3 separate regions of the Homo sapiens genome follow, and regions 2 and 3 are each linked to region 1. The links are contacts of gene promoters, found by promoter capture Hi-C in human tissues and cell types (Jung and others, 2019). All regions are on one chromosome and are shown on one strand. The core of a region is centred on a gene start or on the middle of the fragment in contact, and the rest is flanking DNA. Distances in the headings are between cores, read along the strand shown. Region 1 holds the start of TMEM44 (transmembrane protein 44). Region 2 overlaps ATP13A3 (ATPase 13A3). Region 3 overlaps ATP13A3 (ATPase 13A3).

Region 1 (4,249 bases), core at 769-3,268:
TGAGCGCCTGTCCTTGGGAATGGTGGATGAGTACAGAGGGCTCTTGGCTTTCTAAACATTTCCTGACCTGCTGGCCCAAGCCTGAAGCTCACAGTGGCAACATCAACTTCAGTCTGGGCCCTGGGCTCCTAAAACCAATTGAAGACCAAGGAGTGGAGATTCTTAAATTGGAGACTCCCAGAGGCGGACCCCAATTAGAAATAATTTATATCAACCCTCCCATTTGAGAGGACAAAACTGAGGCCTCTGGTGAGAAGGTGAGTTAATGGTGGTCTTCTGGCTTCACACGCGGGGGCTTTGCTCCGTACCCTGTTGTTCTCAGCCACTTCCCCAGCTCTTGGGGCCAGGGTGCCAGCTGACCTTAACCCAGCCCACACACCACTCCGAAGACACATTCTTCTAAGAGAAAGGGGAGCAGGGGAGGTTCAGGGATGGCAAGGCCCTGAAAACAAATGGGTATGTCCAGATCCCAGGCAGGGTGAGAAGCAGAGGCTCACTCTTAACCCCTCCAAGGTTGGCAAAGTGCCTAACAGTGCTGGTCTGAGGACAACTGTGAGGAACAAAAGGATAATGCGTGTCCAGCGCCTTGTTAGTTTCCAGCCTCTGATCTGAACAGTTTAATCTCTCTTACCAGCCTGCCCCTTTCCAATAGGATCTGGGGTTTTGGTTCTTTCCTTTCACTCAGACAAGTTATTTAACCTCTCAGAACCTCAGGGTTCCCTACAGAAAGTGGGGGTAACAGCACCTACCTCCTGGTGCTGATATTGTGAGTGGCAGGCATTGAATGAGTTAATGAATGCAACACTGGGCCTACAGTAAATGTTCTAGGCGTCTTTTTATTTGTATTGCAGTACTGGGTAGTGGGGCTGCAGAATCTCTGCAATACGACCAAACGCCTTAGGAGAATATCCACTGAGTGCCTACAGGGAGACAGTTCTAACCTCTCCCAGGGGTGCTGGTCCTTTCTCCCCTGCCAGGGAATGCTTGGGCGGCACCATCCTGAGCACTGCTAGTGGATTTCCATGCCTAGGACAGAGCGGCTGAGGACCTGGAGATTCACTCTTAGAACTTAGGCTACCGTGGGCATCTGGACAAACCAGTCCAGGTGCTGGACAGACCAGGGCAAAGACAGGCCAGCTGGATCATATCACTACCTCCCTTCCCACCTAAGAGGACTTTGGGTAAACTGAGGCCAGAAACATCAAGGGACTTGCCAAGGTCCTAAGAGTTGGTGGCCTAGCTGGAGCAATACAAATGATGTTTAATGAGCATTTACTAAGTGCTTTAACGGTACTGATTCATCGAATCCTCCCATCATCCTATGAGGTATTATCTCCGGTCATAGGAGGCCCAGAGAGGTTCTGGAGCTTGCCCAGGTCACACTGCGAGTCAATGGCGAAGGGCTGACAATAGCACCCAGGGCTCGCGGTGTCCTCGGGGCCCCATCCGCTGCACCACCCAGCCTCCTCCCTTTGGCTCACAGCCCAGCTTCCCTGTGCGTGGGATCCGGAAAGAAGATCCCACTTCAGTCTACAGAGCAATGTTCCATTGGATCCTATTACTGAGCCATCTCCTTCATCCCCCTTTCCGCCCCCTCCTCTAGGTTTCCGAGAGGGAGCAGCAGGGGATTGGCGCCCGTTTCCCCGCCCGACAGCCCCCCGACCCGTGGCCCCATTACAGCGCGTGGGCGGCGATCCAGCAGGAGGAGGCGCAGATCCACAGGCCGAAGGAGATGCAGACGCGGTGGCGGGCGAAGCAGCGGTCCAGGTAGTCCCAGTCCCAGAGCGCGGGCGCGGGGCTGGGCGCCTCCCCCATGGCGCGGCTGGGCGCGCGGCGCGGGGCCGGGGACCTGGGCGCAGCCTCCCTCGCCGCGGGCAAGCCCCGAGCGCCGCCGCCCCGCGTGCCCTTCTCTGGGTTCCGTTCCGCCGCGGCGCCTCCGGCCGAGCGCACCGACCGCGGGCAGAGAAGGGCGCGCTCCCGGGCGCGGGCGGCGGCGGCGAAGGCGCCGGGGAAAAGTTTCCGGGACCGCGCGCTCCCCACCCCTCGCGCTATTGTCGGGGGTCGGCAGGGCGGAGGCCGCCCCCCAGCGGCGGGAGCCGGGAGCTGCGCGCGCACAAAGACTGCGGCCCCCGCCCCCCGCCGACCTCTTCGCGGTCACCCACCTCCAACATCCTGGCCGGAGCGGGGCGGGCGGCTGGGCTCGCGGACGGCCGAGTCCCTGCCGGTCGCTGTAAGGCACGGCGTCCCTTCCTGCGTATTGTCCACATTTCCTGAGCCAACAGCAATTAGTTGCGCTGCTGAAGCGCATGGGTGCTGGGATCCCGAGGTGAAGGGGGCGTGGTCCTGATCGCCGACAGGGCGCAGTAAAAAGGGTGGGGTGCAAGACCAGGAAGGAGGAAACAAACGTGCCGGAGAACAAATACCCCCACATCTGCCTCTCACTCTCCTTTCTGAAGCTGCCAACGGCACCCTCCGCCCCCAGGCAGTCGCCCAAGCCCTGCTCCTGGATGTCATCCTAGCCCACGGCCCCGCAGCCAAGAGCTGGTTATCTCTGCAACCGGCCGCCTCCTGTCCAGCCACACACCGCACAGTTCAAGTACACAGGGCTGTTTTTCTTGAGAGTAAACTATTATTGTAATTTTTAAATCTCCTTATTGATTTTAGTAGGTTTGTTTAAAGCAAGACATGACTTGAAAACAATATTTCTATAGAAGGAGCAGGATTGAAAAAAAGAAAAAAAATCTTTTTTAATTTTCAAAAACTACAGCTTTATTTAGATATTATTTATATGCCATAAGCATAGTCTTTTTTTTTTTTTTTTTTTTTGAGACAGAGTCTCACTCTGTTGCCCAGGCTGGAATGCAATGGTGCGATCTCAGCTCCCTGCAGCCTCCGCCTCCCAGGTTCAAGCAATTCTCCTGCCTCCGCCTCCCAAGTAGCTGGGACTACAGGTGCCCGCCACCACACCCGAGTAATTTTTGTATTTTTAGTAGAGACGGTGTTTCACCATGTTGGCCAGGCTGGTCTTAAACTCCTGACCTCGTGATCTGCCCTCCTCAGCCTCTTAAAGTGCTGGGATTACAGGTGTGAGCCACCACATCCAGCCTACATAGTACTTTTAAAATGTACAATTCTGGCCAGGCACGGTGGCTCACAACTGTAGTCCCTGCACTTTGGGAGGCTGAGGCAGGCGGATCACTTGAGGTCAGGAGCTCAAGACCGGCCTGGCCAACATGGTGAAACACTGTCTCTACTAAAAATACAAAAATTAGCCGGGCATGGTGGTGCGCGCCTGTAATCCCAGCACTTTGGGAGGCCGAGGCAGGTGGATCACTTGAGGTCAGGAGTTTGAGACCACCCTGGCCAACATGGTGAAACCCCATCTCTACTAAAAACACAAAAATTAGCCAGGCATGATGGCAGGCGCCTGTAATCCCAGCTACTCGGGAGACTGAGGCAGGAGAACTGCTTGAACCTGGGAGGCGGAGATTGCTGTGAGCTGAGATGGCGCCACTGCACTCCAGCCTGGGCGACAGAGCAAGACTCCATCTCAAAACAAAACAAAAAATAAAATGTACAATTCAGCAGTTTTTAGTGTATCCATAGCGTTGTGCAACCAACATCACTGTCTACTTTTAGAACATTTTCATCACCCCCATCTGAAAAGAACCCGGCCCACTGGCAGTTACTGTCCACTCCCCTCAACACTCGCAGCCCAGGAATCGCAAATCTACCTTCTGTCTCTATGGATTTGCCCATTTTGGACATTCCACATCAATGGAATCATCCACTATATGACCTTTCTGTGACTTTCACTTAGCATGTTTTCAAGGTTCATTCATGTTGCTGCGTGTTATCAGTACTTCATTCCTGTTTATGGCTCATCATAATACATGGTATGGGTATTTTTATACCACATTTCGTTTATCCACTCATTAGTGGGATGTTTGGATTGCTTTCACCTTTGGGCTATTATGAATAATGCTGCTCTGAACATTTGTGCACAAGTTTTTGTGTGGACACAGGTTTCATGCTCTCTTGGGTATATACCTAGGAGTGTCCTTGCTGGGATCTGTGGTAACTGTGTTTAATGTTTTGAGGAATTGCCAGACTATTTTCCAAAGTGGCTACACTATTTTAGTGGTTCACTGTGTTTTCAAAGTTATGATTTGGCTTGGTAAGGTGGCTCATGCCTGTAATCCCAGCACTCTGGGAGGCCAAGGTGGGAGGATCAGTGGAGCCCAGGAGT
Region 2 (4,249 bases), core at 907-3,406, 180 kb before region 1:
ATAAGATATTGGACAGGCACAGTGGCTCACGCCTGTAATTCCAACACTTTGGGAGGCCAAGGTGGATGGATCACCTGAGGACAGGAGTTCACGACCAGCCTGGCCAACGTGGTGAAGCCGTCTCTACTAAGAATGCAAAAATTAGCCATGCATGGTGGCACACACCTGTAGTCCCAGCTACTCGGGAGGCTGAGGCATAAGAGCTGCTTGAACCTGGGAGCGGAGGCTGCAGTGAGCCAAGATCGCACCACTGCTCTCCATCCTGGGTGACAGAACAAGGCTCTGTCTCAAAACAAACAAACAAAAAAAAAACAAAAAAAAAATCAAGCTCTACCTCAAGATTGTGAATTTCCAAAGGGAAGTCATTTTAAAGCCTGTATCTCCTCAGTTCAAGAAAAATATAAAATCTTTCTTTATTCCCACTTTTTACACATCAAATGGGGAACCAAATACTGTATGCCACATTTTCTGTGGGAAAAGGCCGCCTTTCCACTTCCCTAACCTTAAACCATTTCCTAAGGTCCAAAGAGTAGCCAGAGTGAGGTCAAGAGATGTGACCAACACTATAGCACAGTATCTAGTATTACAGCTGAGTATAATGCAGAATTCGGTCTACTCAGAATTTTAAATCTCCAATATCCAACATATTCATGAGTAAAGGTACAAATGACATAGCTAATTTTGAAAAGGCTTACTCACTAACTTAGTCATGATATATCATGAACAACTCATGTTGATATTTACTCATTTAGCTTACCTGTTAACATGCTTTCGTTTACAATGCAGGTACCATTAATAAGCACAGCATCACAAGGCATTATTGTCCCATTTAATGGAATGACCATGACATCTCCTGGCACAAGGTCGGTAGAAAAGATTTCTTCTATTTCTGAAATTAAAGAAAGAAAGAAAAATCTGAAAAAGATATTCTTTACCTTGGAAAAATACAGCAAATGCTATTCAGAAGTCATCTGATCTCAATAAGAAGTTTATAATGGGGTAAAATAGAAAAATCCAACAAATGGCAAGTTTTAACAAATAAGATTATTAGGCTAACAAAGCACGGTGTGTCAGCTAGTTAGTCTCCTGCTAGGACACCAGCTGTGCACCGGTGATGCCAAGTACCCTCTGACGAAGCAGGTTAAGTGTGCTTCAACACTCATGACAACCGTCCATGATAAATGGTGACTATTAGCCTAAGGAAGAGACACAATGAGTCCACAAAGGAGATGCCTGTGAAACAGGTCAAACAAACTCCGATTTCTATAATCCCTTGGAAACAGAAGGAAGCACTAGAAAACTTAGCATCTTTTCTTTTCAACAGCTTATCTATAATATTCCTTTTCTCACTGCCACTATTTATAACCTTCAAGTCTCATTGCCTCAATATTCCTAAATTACTCTTTTTAGATATTATTTTAAATATGAGTAAATTCATTAAATAAACACTGTAATATTTTATCTAGCTCATTATTTCCTTACAAATTTTAGTGAAACACTTTTAAAAAAAGATCTTCCCTCTGGTACAAGTTGGTGTTTGAAAAAAAGAAAAATGAAAATGAAAAGATCTTCCGAAGGGTGAAAGGCTTTTCTTTAGGGTCACCTTATATGTAGGTATTCTCTCTCTTTTCCTCTCATTCTCTAACACCCTCCCTCTCCCTGTCCAGGTTTAATACTGTGCTCAGAAGACAGTCACACTAGTTTATAAATGGAGATGGATGAGAAGAAACTTATTGTTTGTGATGTTAGCCTGTAAGACAAACACTCTTTCTTTCCTTTTTTTAAAAAAGGAAGTAATTTACTAAATTATGAGGGAACAACTTTTAAAGAATGACATTTAGTACATAGTAGATATTATCGATCTTCGTTTTAAAAATAAGATCCCTTCTTTTAAAAATTTGGATTTCTTTAAAAAGAAAATAAATCCATTCCTCAGATGGGAAGAAAAAAGTAAAAATTTGACTTTTCTTAAAGCTTTTAAATACCACTTGAAGTTCTACTCCTTTTAGGCGTACCAGAAAACAAGGTATCAATGACATGTAAGACTATACAAAGTGGGTAAGGAAGATTCAAGTTGAATGGTATGTCTGCCCTGGCATCCCCATTATATTCAGCAACAGCAGAACAAGAAGAGGAGAGGCATCAATAAGCTACACATCTTAGACTTCAGCTAAGGGAGGCAGATCTTCCTAGCTAGAGTAGCAAGTGGCCAGGAAGCACAGGGAAGGAAGCAATCTCTTGGGTGTAGTCTGAGTCAAGAAAATGGAGACTGATTTGGTGTTCTGAGTAAATCAAAGCGGCTTCTGCCTCCAAGGCCCATGATGCTGTGCTGCCTCCTTTACCTCTTCAACATCTTGCCAGACAAGTTACACGTCCAAAATATTACCATTCTTGCAAGCCTGCTTCTCTTCCAGTTTCCTATTTAACTAAACAGCACCAACATCCATCCACCTAGCCAGACACTGCTCCATGGCCTCATATCCAATGAGTCAAATCCTGTTCAATGGTCACATTTAAGTATCTTTTGAACTCATTTCTTTTCATCTCCGCAATTGCTACCTTGATTCGGGGGGGCATGTCTTCAGTATTACTCTCCTCTAAACCAGTCTGAATGTGGACGCCAGAATGATTTTTTTCCAAAGGGCAAGTATTTTATCACTCCTCTGCTTAAAACCCTTCAATGGTGGCTATGCATGGTGGCTCATGCCAGTAATCCCAGCACTCTGGGAGGCCAAGGCGGGCAGATCACTTGAGGCCAGGAGTACCAAACCAGCCTGGCCAACAAGGTTGACACTGTTTCTACTAAAAACACAAAAATTAGCTGGGTGTGATGGTGTGTACGCCTGTAATCCCAGCACTCTGGAAGGCCAAGGCGGGTGGATCACTTCAGACCCAGAGTTAGAGACCAGCCTGGCCAACATGGTAACACCCTGTTTCTACTAAAAATACAAAAAACTGGCTGGGCGTGGTGGCACATGCCTCTAATCCCGGCTACTCAGGAGGCTGAGGCACAAGAATTCCTTGAACCTGGGAGGCGGAGGTTGCAGTGAGCCAAGATTGCCACTGCACTCCAGCCTGGGAAGGAGACTCTATCGAAAAAATAAAATAAAATAAAATAAATTAATAATAATAGCCTTCAATGGCTTTCCACTGTCTTTTGGACTGAGCCCAAATCCCTAACATGCTTCAGAGAGCTATCCATCATTTATAGTTGCTGTATTTGTCATACTAAATTTCTTCTTTCAGTTCTTATAATGTCCACACAATCTCTAATTTCTAGGCCTTTGGGTATTTAGAACCCTCTTCTCTCCTTCTCTCAGCCTCCCCTTATCAACTTCTCACCTACCTCTTATTTGGCTAATTCAAATAGTCATCACTTACAAGCACTTAATCAAAGAAGTCATCCCTGATACCTACAGTAAATGAGCTCCCCTAATACATAAGTTGGCTGACTTCTCCTTATCATAGCATTTGTCACACTGTATTGTTACTGTTACTACTGTTATCTCTACACCGAATCCCCAGAGCCTAGCATAGTGCCTGCTACATAGAAGAAAAATACAATTTTATATAAATAAATGAATTTGATACAAACTCAGGAACTGAAATGTATACTTTTAGTTCTTAAAAAAATGAATGTATGTGCGAGGCAGAGTGGCTCAAGCCTGTAATCTCAAGACTGTGGGAGACTGAGGCAGGAGGATCTCTTGAGCCCAGGAATTCAAGACCAGCATGGGCAACACAGTGAGACCTCGCCTCTTCAAAAAAAGAGAAAAAATTAGCCAGGAATGGTGGCACAAGCCTGTAGTCCCACCTACTTGGGAGGCTGAGACAGGAGGGTAAGTTGAGCCACTGCACTCAGGCCTGTGCAACAGTGAGACCACATCGACTTTAAAAAAAAAAAAAAAAAAAAAAAGGCCGGGTGCACAGTGCAGTGGCTCAAACCTGTAATCCCAACACTTTGGGAGGCCCAGGTGGGCAGATCACTTCAGCCCAGAAGTCTGAGACCAGACTGGGCAACATGGCAAAACCCTGTCTCTAAAAAAAAAAAAAATAGAAAAATTAGCTGGGCATGGTGGCATGCACCTGTAGTCCCAGCTACTCGGGAGCCTAAAGTGGGAGGATTACTTGAGTCTGGGAGGTCAAGGCTGCAGTAAGCTGAGATTGTGCCTTTGCACTCCAGCCTAAGTGACAGAGACACTGACTCAATCAATCAATCAATCAAAGAATGTATATGTATTATACTTTG
Region 3 (4,249 bases), core at 650-3,149, 160 kb before region 1:
TATAGAAGGAGTTCATTCACCTTAGTTCAGCATAATAATATTTTTCACTTCATCTTCTACAGTTAGACCACATAAAGAACTCTTCCAATTAATTATTTTTAAATGAGCTTATTATAGGCAGTTCACTGCCTATAGCAATCTATTTTCATACTTTTCAAAATACAATTTTTTAACCATATTACACCATTACTCTTTTTATGAGTGTAATTTCTCTAAAACGTAGTTGTTTTTTAAAGCAAATTAAGTCTTAGCAAATTTTACCAAAGTGCTAAAAATAAACAATTCAAATAAAAAGTTGCTCTAAAAACCTCCAATTAATTATTCACTTTGAATATATTATACACCTCAAAGGAAATTACCCAAGAATTCACTTTTCACATAAACTTTTAGTCAACTCCAATGCGACAACTCCAACAGCTCTTACATTTAGAACATATGTATGTTAAAAACATATTTAAATTTTAAATGTACATAAGTAAAAGCCCTGATTATTTCAATGACTGAGAGGATAAAAAACCACATAAACATATTTAAAATACACTGCTTATCAAGATAAAAATACATATTAAATACAATTCTACTATATATCTAATCAGACATTTGAAGCATTAATACCAAATTGATAAACCCATTACTTACAGAAATATAACTTTTCTGGACTGCTGGAGCACACGTTTTTTAACCAAGTCAAATTCGATATCAGAGAAAACAAATTGAAGAAATTTTTCTTACCAGTAGCACTATATCATCATTCTTCCCAATTCCTGATATTTGCACAGCTTTCAAAAGCTGGCTTTTAATAATAAAAATAAAACTAAGCATAAAAATTTGGAATTTTATGCCAAATATTTCTGTTTCGGTTCTGTCTGAACTGCTTTCAAAATGATTAAGGTATTAAAATTTAGAATTTTGTAATTCACCAATTTTTAGTAAGTTTTCAGAAGATGTGCCCTTCTGCCATCTGTCACTCGTAGAGCTCCTATTATTTGAATAAATCCTAGCTAGTTAGCTCACCGAAGTTCCAATTCCACAGTGCATGCCTGAGTCTTGATGTTATCTAAATAGCAAGGAGCTTATAGGCTATTGTGCTTAACCAAACCCTTCCTTGAATTTATAATAAACTTGATTTGCTGTGTGAGTTTAAAAAAAAAAAAAAAAAAACAGTATGGGACAAAGTGAAGCTACTGGGAAAAAAAATCTCACTACATTAAATATGCCAATTTTTGAAAGTTTACTTATTTTTTCACATTATGTAATTACTACAAACAATTAAAGTATACTATTTATCCTATACCATGCTAAAAGTTAGTCAGATTTCATTCCTTAAAACAAGATCAGTTGTTTTCAGACACAGAAATCTCCAAACCTCAAAGACATCTTTGCTTCAAACCTGAGTTTCTCAAGAGTTGTAACAATATTATAATAGTGAGTGTGGAGAGTGTTGAATTTTTTTAAGGATAGTCTATGTACGTGCCTACAATTCCAAAGTAGGTAATTTCACGAAGTGATTTAAATAACGACCTGTAATCAAGTAAAAGTTCAGGCAAAGCAATTTTGAATAATACATTTTTAATTTAATTTTTTCCTTCAGTCAGTATTTGCCATCTTCAGCAGTACTGAAGTAAAAAACTAAAATTAAAAATGCATTATTCACCGAGGCGGGTGGAATGCCTGAGGTCAGGAGTTTGAGACCAGCGTGGTCAGCATGGTGAAACCCCATCTCTACTAAAAATACAAAAATGAGCCAGGCAAGGTAGCATGCGCCTGTAATCCTGGCTACTTAGGAGGCTGAGGCAGGAGAATCGTTTGAACCTGGAGGTGGAGGTTGCAGTAAGCCAAGACTGCGCCACTGCACTCCAGCCAGCATGACAGAGCAAGACTCCATCACACACACACACCAAAAAAAAAAAAGCGCATCATTCAAAATTCACAGCTGGGTGCAGTGGCTCACGCCTATAATCCCAGCACTTTGAGAGGCCAAGGCAGGAGGATCACATGAGGCCAGGAGTTTGAGACCAGTCCAGCCAACATAGTGAAACCCCATCTCTACTAAAAATACAAAAATTAGGCAGGTGTGGTGGTGCATATCTGTAATCCTAGTTACTAGGGAGAGGCTGAGGCAGGAGAATTGCTTGAACCCAGGAGGCGGAGGGTTGCAATGAGCAGAGATCACACCACTGCACTCCGGCCTGGGAACAGAGTGAGACTCTGTCTCAAAAAAGAAAAAAAAACTCACAAAAATAAATAAGTATAAAAGAAATTCCAGTAACTGAATTTCTCAATGGTGTTTAAGTTTATAACATATATAATTCTGGAGTTTTAAAAATTAAAACTTCACTGAGATTTCTGTGACACCTTGTATTGTTGAATGAGAGAAGGAATTATCCCGCTTTGTTTTGCAGTCCTAGATTTTTTTTCTGAGAATTACACATACCTACCAATGTTAAATAAATATTTGATAAACCCATCTTTAAAGACCACACAAGCCAAGAGTGCTTTAATGATCTTGAAATATAAACAGCACAGCTAGCATTCTAAATATTATTTTATTCTCAAACTTGTAAAATTTACAGTAACTGAGAAGATAACCTTGTCCAGTTCAAAATCAGTTCTACTTTTTGCTGTTGAAATAAAATATGCCCCAATACGTTTAAAGCCTTAACTTTAGTCATTGAACAATTTCAATTTTAATACCTATACAAATATATACAAAAAGAATTTTTAAAAAATCAGAATCATCCAACTGTAATAACCAAATTGTGACAATTCTTTATGAGGGCAAAACTTAAAACTTCAAGTCAGCTCCTAAAAATAAGAATGACATAATATAATTTAATGAATACATGGAAATTTTACAAGGATACCAGCTAAATTTTAACAAAGCTCTACTCAATACCCACTTTATCACTTCCCATCTTGGACTTTCTCTTATAATATGCTTTTGTTTCTGTGTTTAGGCTTAAGGAAGACCATTGTATCCAATATACACCAAACCAAGACTGTATTTACATTTGTAAAGTGGAGTCTTTGTATAATTATACTTTTTTGTATGTTACAAAACAATGTGATAGCTATAACAAAATAAGCTATAATTAGGAAAGATAACATAATTACCTGTATTAGGATCAATATGAAGAAGAGTTTAGCCTACACTATACCATTAATTCTTGCATAGGTACTTTATCGCTTTTATCATATACTCTATTTAAAAAACAAAATCAACCCTTTTATTCAGAGAAATCCTACAGAGTTTTGTCTAATTGTATAGTATTTGGCAAAAAGGGGGACATTACCTTTGGACTGACAAATGATACGTGCATTTTACTCTCTCTTTATAAAAAAAAATGTGCAAAATATCATTTATATGCAATGTAATAAAACAGTTTGCATTCTCAAAATGTCCACTTACGTCACTGAGAGATTTTCTATTTCAATTATTCAAGCTACTATGTTCTTAAAACTTTCATACTTTCCCCTAAATTGTTAAAAAGTATGTAACTTTTTAAAATTCCACATTCAAGGTTAAGAATTTTAAGACTCTTATGATTGCTAGATAGATTTCAAAACATTACTACTATCTACGATGAAAAATGCTGCGGCAGGCAACAGGAAACAGTGATAAGTCCCAGACTGAATATTCAGAACTGGCAGAAGTAAAATGGCTTAGAGAGAAAACTGGCACCTACTCCTGAGATAATCAAAAAGGCGAATACATCAATAAATTGGTGACAATGGCTACCTCTGGGCTGGGTGGGAGTGAGGAAGAGACACTAGTGCCTTTTGAATGCCTTCCCGAAGGAAGACTGAATAGTTGATTGAATATATGCCTAAACTTCTAATTCTACAATGCATGGCCAACCCTGAGTTCTAAACTTGTAGGAACCTTTGAAGCACATCATGGTGCTCTATCAGACCATTCTCTTTGCCTGCATCTTACCCCAGGCAAGAGAAAGTTGTCATTCTGAAAGCTCCTTTAACAAGTATACTTCTATTAATTAGATTTATTTCTATCTCCTCTACATTTTGGCCCAGCTGAAAAAGCATGTGCCTATAATACAGCGTTAAGTAGCAGCAAATTCTAAAAAAAAAAAAAAAAAAAAAAAGAAAAGAAAAGAAAAAGAAAATTTGAGACAGCATCTTGCTCTGTCTCCCAGGCTGGAATGCAGTGGCACAATCTTAGCTCACTGCAACCTCTGCCTTCCGGGTTCAAGCAATTCTCTTGCCTCGGCCTCCTGAGTAGCTGGGACCA

Evidence for each region. The method cuts DNA at HindIII sites, captures the fragments that hold promoters and counts their contacts. A contact is called where the count stands out against the background at its distance.
Region 2: a fragment that was not itself captured here is called in contact with the fragment with the promoter of TMEM44 in region 1 in 1 of the 25 tissues and cell types used here (IMR-90 fibroblasts).
Region 3: a fragment that was not itself captured here is called in contact with the fragment with the promoter of TMEM44 in region 1 in 1 of the 25 tissues and cell types used here (spleen).

What each region holds. Positions count from the first base shown.
Region 1 is chr3:194,631,401-194,635,649 of GRCh38, forward strand. TMEM44 (transmembrane protein 44) reads right to left here and starts at 2,019. Exons shown (of 10, transcript NM_001011655.3): 1 at 1,679-2,019. The coding sequence starts at 1,815. It overlaps TMEM44-AS2 (TMEM44 antisense RNA 2), which reads left to right and starts at 1,528. Exons shown (of 2, transcript NR_186047.1): 1 at 1,528-1,767. RefSeq lists a silencer at 1,788-2,217. The HindIII fragment of the contact is 16,299 bases long and covers 1-4,249 here.
Region 2 is chr3:194,449,388-194,453,636 of GRCh38, forward strand. It overlaps ATP13A3 (ATPase 13A3), which reads right to left. Exons shown (of 34, transcript NM_001367549.1): 11 at 758-889. Among named protein-coding and RNA genes, the nearest start is that of ATP13A3, 35 kb to the right of the region's middle. RefSeq lists an enhancer at 111-1,310. The HindIII fragment of the contact is 4,181 bases long and covers 67-4,247 here.
Region 3 is chr3:194,467,245-194,471,493 of GRCh38, forward strand. All of the region lies in intron 2 of ATP13A3 (ATPase 13A3), which reads right to left. Among named protein-coding and RNA genes, the nearest start is that of ATP13A3, 18 kb to the right of the region's middle. The HindIII fragment of the contact is 5,781 bases long and covers 1-4,249 here.